3 separate regions of the Homo sapiens genome follow, and regions 2 and 3 are each linked to region 1. The links are contacts of gene promoters, found by promoter capture Hi-C in human tissues and cell types (Jung and others, 2019). All regions are on one chromosome and are shown on one strand. The core of a region is centred on a gene start or on the middle of the fragment in contact, and the rest is flanking DNA. Distances in the headings are between cores, read along the strand shown.

What was found. The method cuts DNA at HindIII sites, captures the fragments that hold promoters and counts their contacts. A contact is called where the count stands out against the background at its distance.
Region 2: a fragment that was not itself captured here is called in contact with the fragment with the promoter of MRPL48 in region 1 in 6 of the 25 tissues and cell types used here (aorta, heart left ventricle, liver and 3 more).
Region 3: a contact is called between a fragment that was not itself captured here and the fragment with the promoter of MRPL48 in region 1, in 4 of the 25 tissues and cell types used here (H1 embryonic stem cells, IMR-90 fibroblasts, mesendoderm cells and 1 more).

Annotation. Positions count from the first base shown.
Region 1 is chr11:73,786,117-73,789,378 of GRCh38, forward strand. It overlaps MRPL48 (mitochondrial ribosomal protein L48), which reads left to right and starts at 1,758. Exons shown (of 8, transcript NM_016055.6): 1 at 1,758-1,876. The coding sequence starts at 1,856. RefSeq lists enhancers at 1,692-1,751, 1,892-1,971. The HindIII fragment of the contact is 15,089 bases long and covers 1-3,262 here.
Region 2 is chr11:73,836,223-73,839,484 of GRCh38, forward strand. All of the region lies in intron 4 of MRPL48 (mitochondrial ribosomal protein L48), which reads left to right. Among named protein-coding and RNA genes, the nearest start is that of COA4, 39 kb to the right of the region's middle. The HindIII fragment of the contact is 8,765 bases long and covers 1-3,262 here.
Region 3 is chr11:73,733,103-73,736,364 of GRCh38, forward strand. All of the region lies in intron 1 of RAB6A (RAB6A, member RAS oncogene family), which reads right to left. Among named protein-coding and RNA genes, the nearest start is that of RAB6A, 26 kb to the right of the region's middle. The HindIII fragment of the contact is 8,687 bases long and covers 1-3,262 here.

The sequences.
Region 1 (3,262 bases), core at 508-3,007:
TTAGCCAGCATGGTCTCGATCTCCTGACCTCGTGATCTGCCCGCCTCGGCCTCCCAAAGTGCTGGGATTACAGGCGTGAGCCACTGCGCCCGGCCAAAAAAAAAATTCTAGTTGTTTTGGGAATCCTTATATCTTCGTACAAAGGACTAACCGTCTCCTTCTTCCTTCTTTTTCCCTTTCCCTTCACCTTACCTACCCCAGAGAGTGTATTAATGCAAAGATGGATTTGTATCTTTTTTTTTTTTTTTTTTTTGGGATGGAGTTTCGTTGTCGCCCAGGCTGGAGTGCAATGGCGCCGTCTCGGCTCACTGCAAGCTCTGCCTCCCGGATTCAGGCAATTCTCCTGCCTCAGGCTCCTGAGTAGCTGGGATTACAGGCATGCACCACTACGCCCAGCTAATTTTTGTATTTTTAGTAGAGACGGAGTTTCACAGTTTTGGTCAGGCTGGTCTCAAACTCCCGACCTTGTGATCCGCCTGCCTTGGCCTCCCAAAGTGCTGGGATTACAGGCATGAGCCACCGCACCCGGCCATGTATCTTATTAGATTGTATTTACCTGGACTAGACAAGGAAAGAAACTCTCTGGCTGCCAACCTGCCCTTTTGCAAACCTATAGTCACAGTCCCATAAAATAGATGAAGCACAGGCACGGAAATGAAACAGCTCACCACTTATATAACATTATGTTAACTAGGTACCTTCTTCCTGTCTCTGTTCCTCATCTGTGAAATGGGTATAATGATCCTCAGCCTCATAGGGTTATTGGAAAGACTAAATGAACCCATACACCCATAAAGAACCGACCTGGCACATACTAGCATTTGATTGATTTTTTTTTTCTTATTTAAAATTTCACTTCTAAAACCCCAATAGCATTTATTAGGCAATAATCAATCACTGTACTGGAGGAGGTATGCCTGGTCCATTATATTTCCAAGCATAATTAATTGTCGTATCTGTGTTACCTCAGTACTTTGCACACAATTCTGGTATTTCACTTACCATACTAGATACTAATTATTTGTTACTAGATACTAATTATTTTTTGCTATTATTTTGATTGAGTTCCTCAAGGACTGAGATCCTGACTAATTTATTCCAGCATCTAGCACAGGACGTGGAAATCTGACTTCTAAACTCAATTTAAGAGATGATTGGCTGGGCCTGGTGGCTCACGCTTGTAATCCCAGCACTTTAGGAGGCCGAGGCGGGCGGATCACCTGAGGTCGGGAGTTCAAGACCAGCCTGACAAACATGGAGAAACCTCATCTCTAGTAAAAATATAAAAATTAGGCGGGCGTGGTGGCGGGCACCTGTAATCCCAGCTACTTGGAGACAGAATTGCTTGAACCCGAGAGGCGGAGGTGGCAGTGAGCTGAGATCGTGCCACTACACTCCAGCCTGCGCAACAGAGCGAGACTCCGTCTCAAACAAACAAAAAAGTCAGATCTGTGCTAGACGCTGAAAGGAATTAATCAGACAGGATCTCAGTCTTTTAAGAACTTTCAAATACAGAGAAGAGGTGGTAACAAATCATTAGTGTATAATATTGTAAGCGAAAAATTAGAATTGTGTGCTAAGTACTGGGGTAACACAGAGATGGTAATTAATTCTTTCTGGAGAAACAGCAGTGAATGTGACAACCTGAGTGAGGGTGGAAAGCAGGAGAATTTCTAGACTCTGAATTTCAGAAGCTTCCGGAACTAAAATGATGTGGAAGTTGAGTGAGTCTCGGTGGGATATTGCTGCTGCACCTGGTCAAGGCCGTTCCTTCAGTGTTTTCAGACGCCCTGGGAACGCGGCTGCAGGGTCCGGTCTTCGGTTTGCACAGCTAGAGGCCGCGCAGCAGCAAAGGATGAGCGGAACCTTGGAAAAGGTAACGTAGATTCCACGCACGCGGGGCGCGGGGAGATGGCGGACGGTGCAGAGAGGGGAGATGGCGGAGGGTGCAGAGCGGGGAGGTGGCGGCGCGCGGACATCCGGGGATGAGACACTGGGGCGCCCAAGGTCCTTCCCAGCAGCACATGCGGCTGCCTGGCGTTGAAGGGGCTGAGCAGATTCCTTTCCACCCGGGGCGAACTCTGCCGAGCCGACCCGTGCCACGCCCACACCACATGCCACTCTCTCCACCCAGTTTCTGGAAAAGGGAGAGCTCTGCGATGGGAATCACGACACCAGGATACGGTCCCGATTAACTGTGTGACCTTGGGCAGGTCATTTTATATTTGCATTCAGTTATCAACTTCCAGAATTTTTTCTAAGAATGCAGTTTTGACTTGCTGAACTGATGAGGATGTGAAGCTACCTGGTAATAAGGAAACAGCAGTAATAAACTAGGTTTTTGTTCTTTTCTTTCTTTTTTTTTTTTTTTTTTTTTTGACGGATTTCGCTCTGTTGCCCAGGCTGGAGTGCAGTGGTGCGATCCCGGCTCACCACAACCTTCGCCTTCCGGGTTCAAGCGATTCTCCTGCCTCAGCCTCCTCAGTAGCTGGGACTACAGGCGCGGGACACCATGCCGGGCTAATTTTTGTATTTTTAGTAGAGACGGGGTTTCACTGTGTTGGCCAGGCTGGTCTCGAATTCCTGACCACGTGATCTGCCCGCCTCGGCCTCCCAAAGTGCCGGGATTACAGGCATGAGCCACCGCGCCCTGCAATAATTAACAACATTTTCGTTTCCAAAACCTTATTTAAGTGACTGTCATAAAACCGTATGAACCACTATAAATGTGTTCCTGGGCTTTCTCCCGTTCCCTTAACAGATTTAACAGATTTCATTTGTGCTCTTTCAATTGTATCATGCTGCTTAGATTAATGACTCATTTTAGCAATTTATATTAAAATTTTGTTTTAGGCATTAATTGTGGCAACTATATTTCCATGATTCATAGGTCAGCATGGTCGTTGCAGCTCATGGGTCTACCTGTGGTTACCTTGGGGCTGCCCTTGAATGTGTGAGGGCCCACGCCTCACTTCATCCTTTATGAAACAATTCACTTGTTCACCTTAGCCAGTTTGTAAGAATTTGGCCAAATATGGTGCCAAGATAATAGAAAAAAAAATCAGAAAGTTTCAAAATTCCATTGTTAAAGATGGTCACACTGGTGACTACACTCCTTGATTTGCCTTGGTTCCAAGAAGGGCTAAAAGGGAGGGATTATTTTTCAAGGAATACTATTTCCAACCATTCGGTTCTCCATGTTTCACCATATTGCTCAGGCTGGTCTGGAACTCCTGGAAAAGAGCCCATGGAAATCTGTCAT
Region 2 (3,262 bases), core at 527-3,026, 50 kb after region 1:
ATTCTGGTGCCTCAGCCTCCTGAGTAGCTGGGACTACAGGCGCCTGGCTGCAACCTCCACCTCCTGGGTTCAAGCGATTCTCCCTGCCTCAGCTTCCCAAGTAGATGGGATTACAGTCACTCACCACCACATGCCCAGCTAATTTTTTGTATTTTTAGTAGAGACGGGTTTTCACCATGTTGGCCAGTCTGGTCTCGAACTTCTGACCTCAGGTGATCCTCCCACCTCACCCTTCTAAAGTGCCAGGATTACAGGCATGAGCCACCGTGCCCTTCCAAAAATGCCACTTATTATTATATACCAGGTGCTGTAAGTACTATGTGCCAGGCTTTAAAGACATTATTTCATTTTATAGCCTTATAAACATATATATTATTTAAGCCTTAGAGTATCATATGGTTATTCAAGACCCTGTTTGAGGAATCCAAGACTCAGAGAAAGATTAAATGATGTGCCCACGTGGCTAGAAGTTTTCAGAGCCGATATTTGGAATGAGGATGGCCAGAATTCATCTAACATCTCTAGTATTTCCATTTCATATAAATTCACTCTATTAAGCTTCACAATAACTTTAGCTGTTACAGATGAGGAAACTGAGGCCTAGAAAGGTCACACAGTGTCATGTAGTGACTAAGCAGATAGTTAGGATTTGAGGTCAGATTTTCTGTGGCTTCCATCTAAGTCTAGTGCACTTTATATAGCATCAGGCCATGCCTCCTTGCTACCCCAGTCAGAGCCAGGCCTTTTGTCCATATGTCTCTCAAGTGTATAACACCAGGTTATAAACATACTCAATCGCTGCATACCTCACAGCTCATTATGGACTGTTGATAGTACTTAACCCCAAATCATTCAAATCCTCGGGTGTAAATTTTGTTATTTTCATCACTAGAATTTCTGGAAGCTGAATATGCTGCAGGCATATCAGCCTTTTTGTTTGAGGATTCAGATAATGGATTAATTCTTATCCAACTTTCTCACCCTGGAGAATGTCACTTATAGCGATGGGTAGATACTATCACTTTAAAGGAGAGAGCCTGGGCTTGGGGCTGCAGACTCAGCTTCCAGTTCTGGATAGACATAAAGTTGTTACCTTTGCCCTTGTCTTGCTGTTAAACCTTACACAAGCCATTTTCCTTTTCTGGGTCTCAACTTCCCCCTTGTGTAGAATTAGGGGGAAGGAGAGATTAAATTATCTCTAAGATCCTTTCTGGCTGTAACAGGCTATGATTCTAATTTGATTCCTTTCTTTATCTGCTCTTTCCAGCAAAGTTTCTCAGTAACCTTGGGCAAATAACTTACCTTCAGAGGACCTCAGTTTTCTGTCTGTGAAATAGGGGTAATAATGTGAACATTTGTGTACAAAACTTGTTTCATAATTTACCCTATAGTCTATTTGGGGGACCAGAGTGCAGTCCTACAAGGACCTAAGAATGACAATCCTGGGCCATCCCTTAGTGAATCTAGGCCATAGGAGTGCCAACGTTTGATGATGGACAGTAGTCCATCCTCCCTACTACGTTTCTCCTAACTTCCTTTCCTTTCCTGCCTGGCTGGCCTTCATGTGCAGTCAGGTTGGGCTTCCCAAAACACAGCTTTATTCATGTATATCCTTTGCACAGATTTATTTATTTATTTATTTAGAGACAGAGTCTCGCACTGTTGCCCGGGCTGGAGTGCAGTCAGTGGCATGATCTTGGCTCACTGCAACCTCTGCTTCACGGGTTCAAGCGATTCTCCTGCCTCAGCCTCCTGAGTATCTGGGACTACAGGCACCCGCCACCACGCCTGGCTAATTTTTTTGTATTTTTGGTAGAGATGGGGTTTCACCATGTTGGTCAGGCTGGTCTTGAACTCCTGACCTCATGGTCCGCCTGCCTCGGCCTCCCAAAGTGCTGGGATTACAGGCATGAGCCTCCACTCCTGGCCCACAGATATATCTTTAATAGTTCCTCATGGCATTCATGAAGTCCTGAACTCAATCAGTAGGCATTGAGAGAATGGGATGGATGTGAGAAAAATTGTGTAGATAAAATGACAGAAACTGGCATCTGGTATTATATGCAGTTAAGCTCTTGCTGGCTATGCTGTGCCCTGGCTCAGAACTGAAATATGTATTGTAATATCACAGTGGGATCTTGATAATGTGAATTGGTTCAGGTAGATCTAGGCCAACATGGGAAAGCAAATGAGATGCCAAGATGGACACTGGGATCAGCTTTCTTTTCTTTGTTCCCCTAAAGCAATACCTTTGGAGAGTCCTGGCATTTTCTGTGGTTAAGAAAAGCCTCCTACAGGCTTCAGAGAAGCTCCTCCCCTCTCTGCTGGAAAATTTCAGCCACTCTCCATTGCATTCTGACTTCAGCATTCTAGACAGCTCTTACTGCAGTGCTGCCTGTCACGATGAGAAGTCCTGATTGCTGCATTTGGCCATGAATGTGTTGGGCTCTGAAGAGGAGAGAGCCAAATGCCTGCATGTTGGTGGTTGGTTTCTAGAGGTTGGCTTCCCACTCACCGCAAGGTCTAGCACCCTGGGGTGGCCACCACTGTTAAGAACTTTAGTAATGCAGAGGAAAAATTCCTGCACTAGGATCAGGAGGTCTGGATTTTAGTTCCTGGGGTCTGTCTTGTCTGGCTTCGTGATTCTGGGGAACACATTTATCTGTTTGGGCTTCATATTCTTCCCTTGCAAAGATGAAGAACCAGGACAAAAGCATCTCTAAATTCCTTCCTATTCTAAAATTTTAAAATAATGACTCATTGTATGTTTTCTCTTTGCTGGGCCCTGTGCTAGATAGGAGGAATATAAAGTGAAAATAATAATAAAAGTTAATGTTTAGTGTTTATGTGCCACAGATTGTATTAACCATTTTACATATAGTATTTTGTTCAGTTCTCAAAACATTCCTGTGAGATCAGGTCTATCATCAGTATTACTGGCCTTGTAAAAGGACCATTTCTTTGTCTTCTCTGTGCTTCCTCAAATTGGCTTCCTGCTCTTGACAGGTTGACCTTCAGAGCAGCAGTGTAAGGGAACCATTCCAGGTGCTCTGTTAGGAACAATGCTGCTGTGGAAGCCCCTAGACTGTTGGCTATTAGATGGGGTGACTTAAGACATATCAGTAGGGATAGTTTTTTTTTCTTTTTTTCTTAAAAAAATAATTCAGCCCCATAGCAAGACTTACTATAAATCTCCAATTATTAGGACATGGTGGTATTATCTCATGGATAGACAAATAGCCCAATGGAACAGAAGAGTAGA
Region 3 (3,262 bases), core at 330-2,829, 53 kb before region 1:
ATCTGGCCTCAATTATTTTCTTCATGGCATCTGGAAACTTGTCTTGGTTGGCAGAAGCTGCTTCTGCTGTTACATTGATTTTTTTGTTGTTGTTGTTTTAAGCCAAGTCTTTCAAAAATCATCAAGCCATCCCTTGCTGGAATTAATTCTCCAGCTGTATTTTAGGCCAGGCGCGGTGGCTCACAGCTGTAATCCCAACACTTTGGGAGGCTGAGGCAGGCAGATCACCTGAAGTCAGGAGTTTGAGATCAGCCTGGCCAACATGGCAAAACCTCATTTCTACTAAAAATACAAGAATTAGCCGGGTGTGGTGATGCGCGCCTGTAATCCCAGCTACGCAGGAGACTGAGGCAGGAGAATCGTTTGAACCCAGGAGGTGGAGGTTACAGTGAGCCGAGATCATGCCACTGCACTCCAGCCTGGGCGACAGGGTGTGAGACACCATCTCAAAAAAAAAAAAATAAATAAATAAAAATAAATAAATAAATAAAGAGAATGGACAAATTGTGGCATAGTCATAAAATGAAATATTACAATGACAAAATATCCTAACATGTAAAATTGTATGAACAAATTTCAGACACTACATAGAGTGAAAGAGACCAGATACAAAAGAATATATACTCTGTAATTCTATTTATATGACGTTCAAAACTGGTAGAATTAATGCTGATAGAAGTCAAGAAAAGTTGTAAGGGGTTTCTAACTGAGAAAGGGAGCCAAGGAATCTTCTAAGTGCTGGTATTAATCATTACAAAGGTGAATAAAAAAGTAAAATTTCCAACAAGCCATATATTTAAGATTTGTCTACTTTGTGCCCTTTACTGGATGTTATACTTTAAAATAAAATCTTTTTCTCAAAGAGTAAAACACTTTACTATATATGTATCATTCCCAATAAAAAGTGTATATATGTATGTGGCTATCAAGAACCCCTGATATACTGTGACAAGAAGGGCACTTCACCTTGTGAAGTGAAAAAAACTCCAGTTTAATAACGGAGAAGAATTTACCCAGTTTATCAAGTTTTTGTTTGTTTTTGAGACGGGGTCTCACTCTGTCGCCCAGGCTGGAGTGCAGTGACACGATATCAGCTCACTGCAACCTTCACCTCCTGGGGTCAAGCGATTCTCCTGCCTCAGCCTCCTGGGTAGCTGAGATTACAGGCGCCCGCCACCACGCCCAGCTAGTTTTTGTATTTTTAGTAGAGACAGAGTTTCACCATGTTGGCCAGGCTGGTCTCAAACTCCTGACCTCAGGTGATATACCTGCCTCAGCCCCCCAAAGAGCTGGGATTACAGGCTTCAGCCACCGCACCTGGCCAGTTTATCCAGTTTAATAGTGAGAAAAAAAAATGGCAAACCCAAATTGGAGATAAATCTACAGTAGCAGTCACCAATCTTTTTGGCACCAGGGACCAGTTTCATGGAAGACAGTTTTTCTGTGGGAGTTGGGGAGGAGGAACGGTGGATGGTTTCAGGATGAAACTGTTCTACCTCAGATCATCAGGCATTAGATTCTCATAAGGAGCATGCAACCTAGATCCCTCACATGCACAGTTCACTATAGGGTTCTCGCTCCTATGAGAATCTAATGCCAGCACTGATCTGACAGGAGGTGGAGCTCAGGCCCACTGCTTACCTCCTGCCGTGAGGCCTGGTTCCTAACAGGAGTAATCTAAAATCTAGGAGAAAAAAAACTAAAGGAGAGTGTCTCTCAGTAAAAGTAGGTAGGAACAAGACAACTACAAGTTGAGTATCTCTTAACCAAAATGCTCAGAACCATAAATATTTCAGATTTTAGAAAATTTGCATTATACTTGAGCATCCTTAATCCAAAAGCCTGAAATGAGAAATGCTCCAATGAGCATTTCCTTTGAAAGTCATGTTTAAATATAAAATTTTGATGCATGTATTTGTAAATCATCTCTTAATAACTACATTTGCATTCACTATGCTGCCTCAATGCAATCTCCAGAAACAAAATAGAAATTCTAGCACAATTTCAACATTTATAATAACATTCCTAAAATCACACCATCTGCACCATGCTAATTACACACTCTTGCAATTCTGTGAAGGCCAGACACAACAATGATCTCAGTAGGATTCACATTCCATTTGACTGTATTAACAACCACTGGCAAACAACTTGGGTATAAATTCTAATTCAAATGATAGGGCTCAATCTTTGAAACTTTTGTAGCCCAGGGCAAATATAATAGAAAAATGATCCTACTCACTTATATTTCTTCCTTTTAATGAGAACATACTAAATGCCAGGGACTGAAAAATGCTGGGGATATAAAAACAATCAGAACATAGTACTTGCTAAGGTTAAGTCAGAGAGACAAAAAGTTACTGCAGAGTGATAAAAAGTACAAGAGCATGTTGTGAATGGGGGCAGTCTTCTATTATAAGGCTAGAAGGTAAAGAAAAACTTTCCAGAGAAAAATAACTTTAAACATGAGGTCTGAAGGAGACTTTAGCTAGAAGAAAAAGAAGGTATCTCAGGCCTTTAACAAGGACCATGAGTATTAGAGAGCTAACTTAGGAAGCTTTATTTATTTTTCCAATCTTATTTGGAAAGAAATAAATTTAAATACGTAACTCTACTTATATACGAGATTACCTAAATTCTTCAACAATAAATCAGACAAGTAAATCTGTAATAACCCATATGCAGGACATAATCTTGAAGTTACAGGCCCTCTTACAGGATTTTGCTGCTAATATCAAACCTATCCCAACCTCAAAAGTCTATTTGAGAGAATAAGCAGTATTTGAGGAGGCAGTTTCTGGAATCCCAACCTTGCCTTAAAAAAAAAAAAAAAAAAGAGAGAGAGAGACAGAGAGAGATAAATCACATACCATACAATTCACCTACTTTTTTTTTTTTGGAAACAGAGTGCAGTGGCATGATCGTGGCTCACCATGGCCTCAACCTCCTGGGTTGAAATAATCCTCTGACCTTAGCCTCCAGAGTAGCAGACGATACAGGTGGAAAGTGCTGGGATTACAGATATGAGAAATTCACCGTTTTAAGGCCAGGTGCGGTGGCTCATGGCTGTAATCTCAGCACTTTGAGAGGCCAAGGCGGGCAGATGACTTGAGGTCAGGAGTTTCAGATCAGCCTGGCCAACATGGTGAAACCCCATCTCTACTAAAAATACAAAAATCAGCCGGGTGTGGTGGCAGAGACCCACAATCTGAGCTACTTGGGAGGCTGAGGCAGGGAAATCACTTGAACCCGGGAGGCGGAG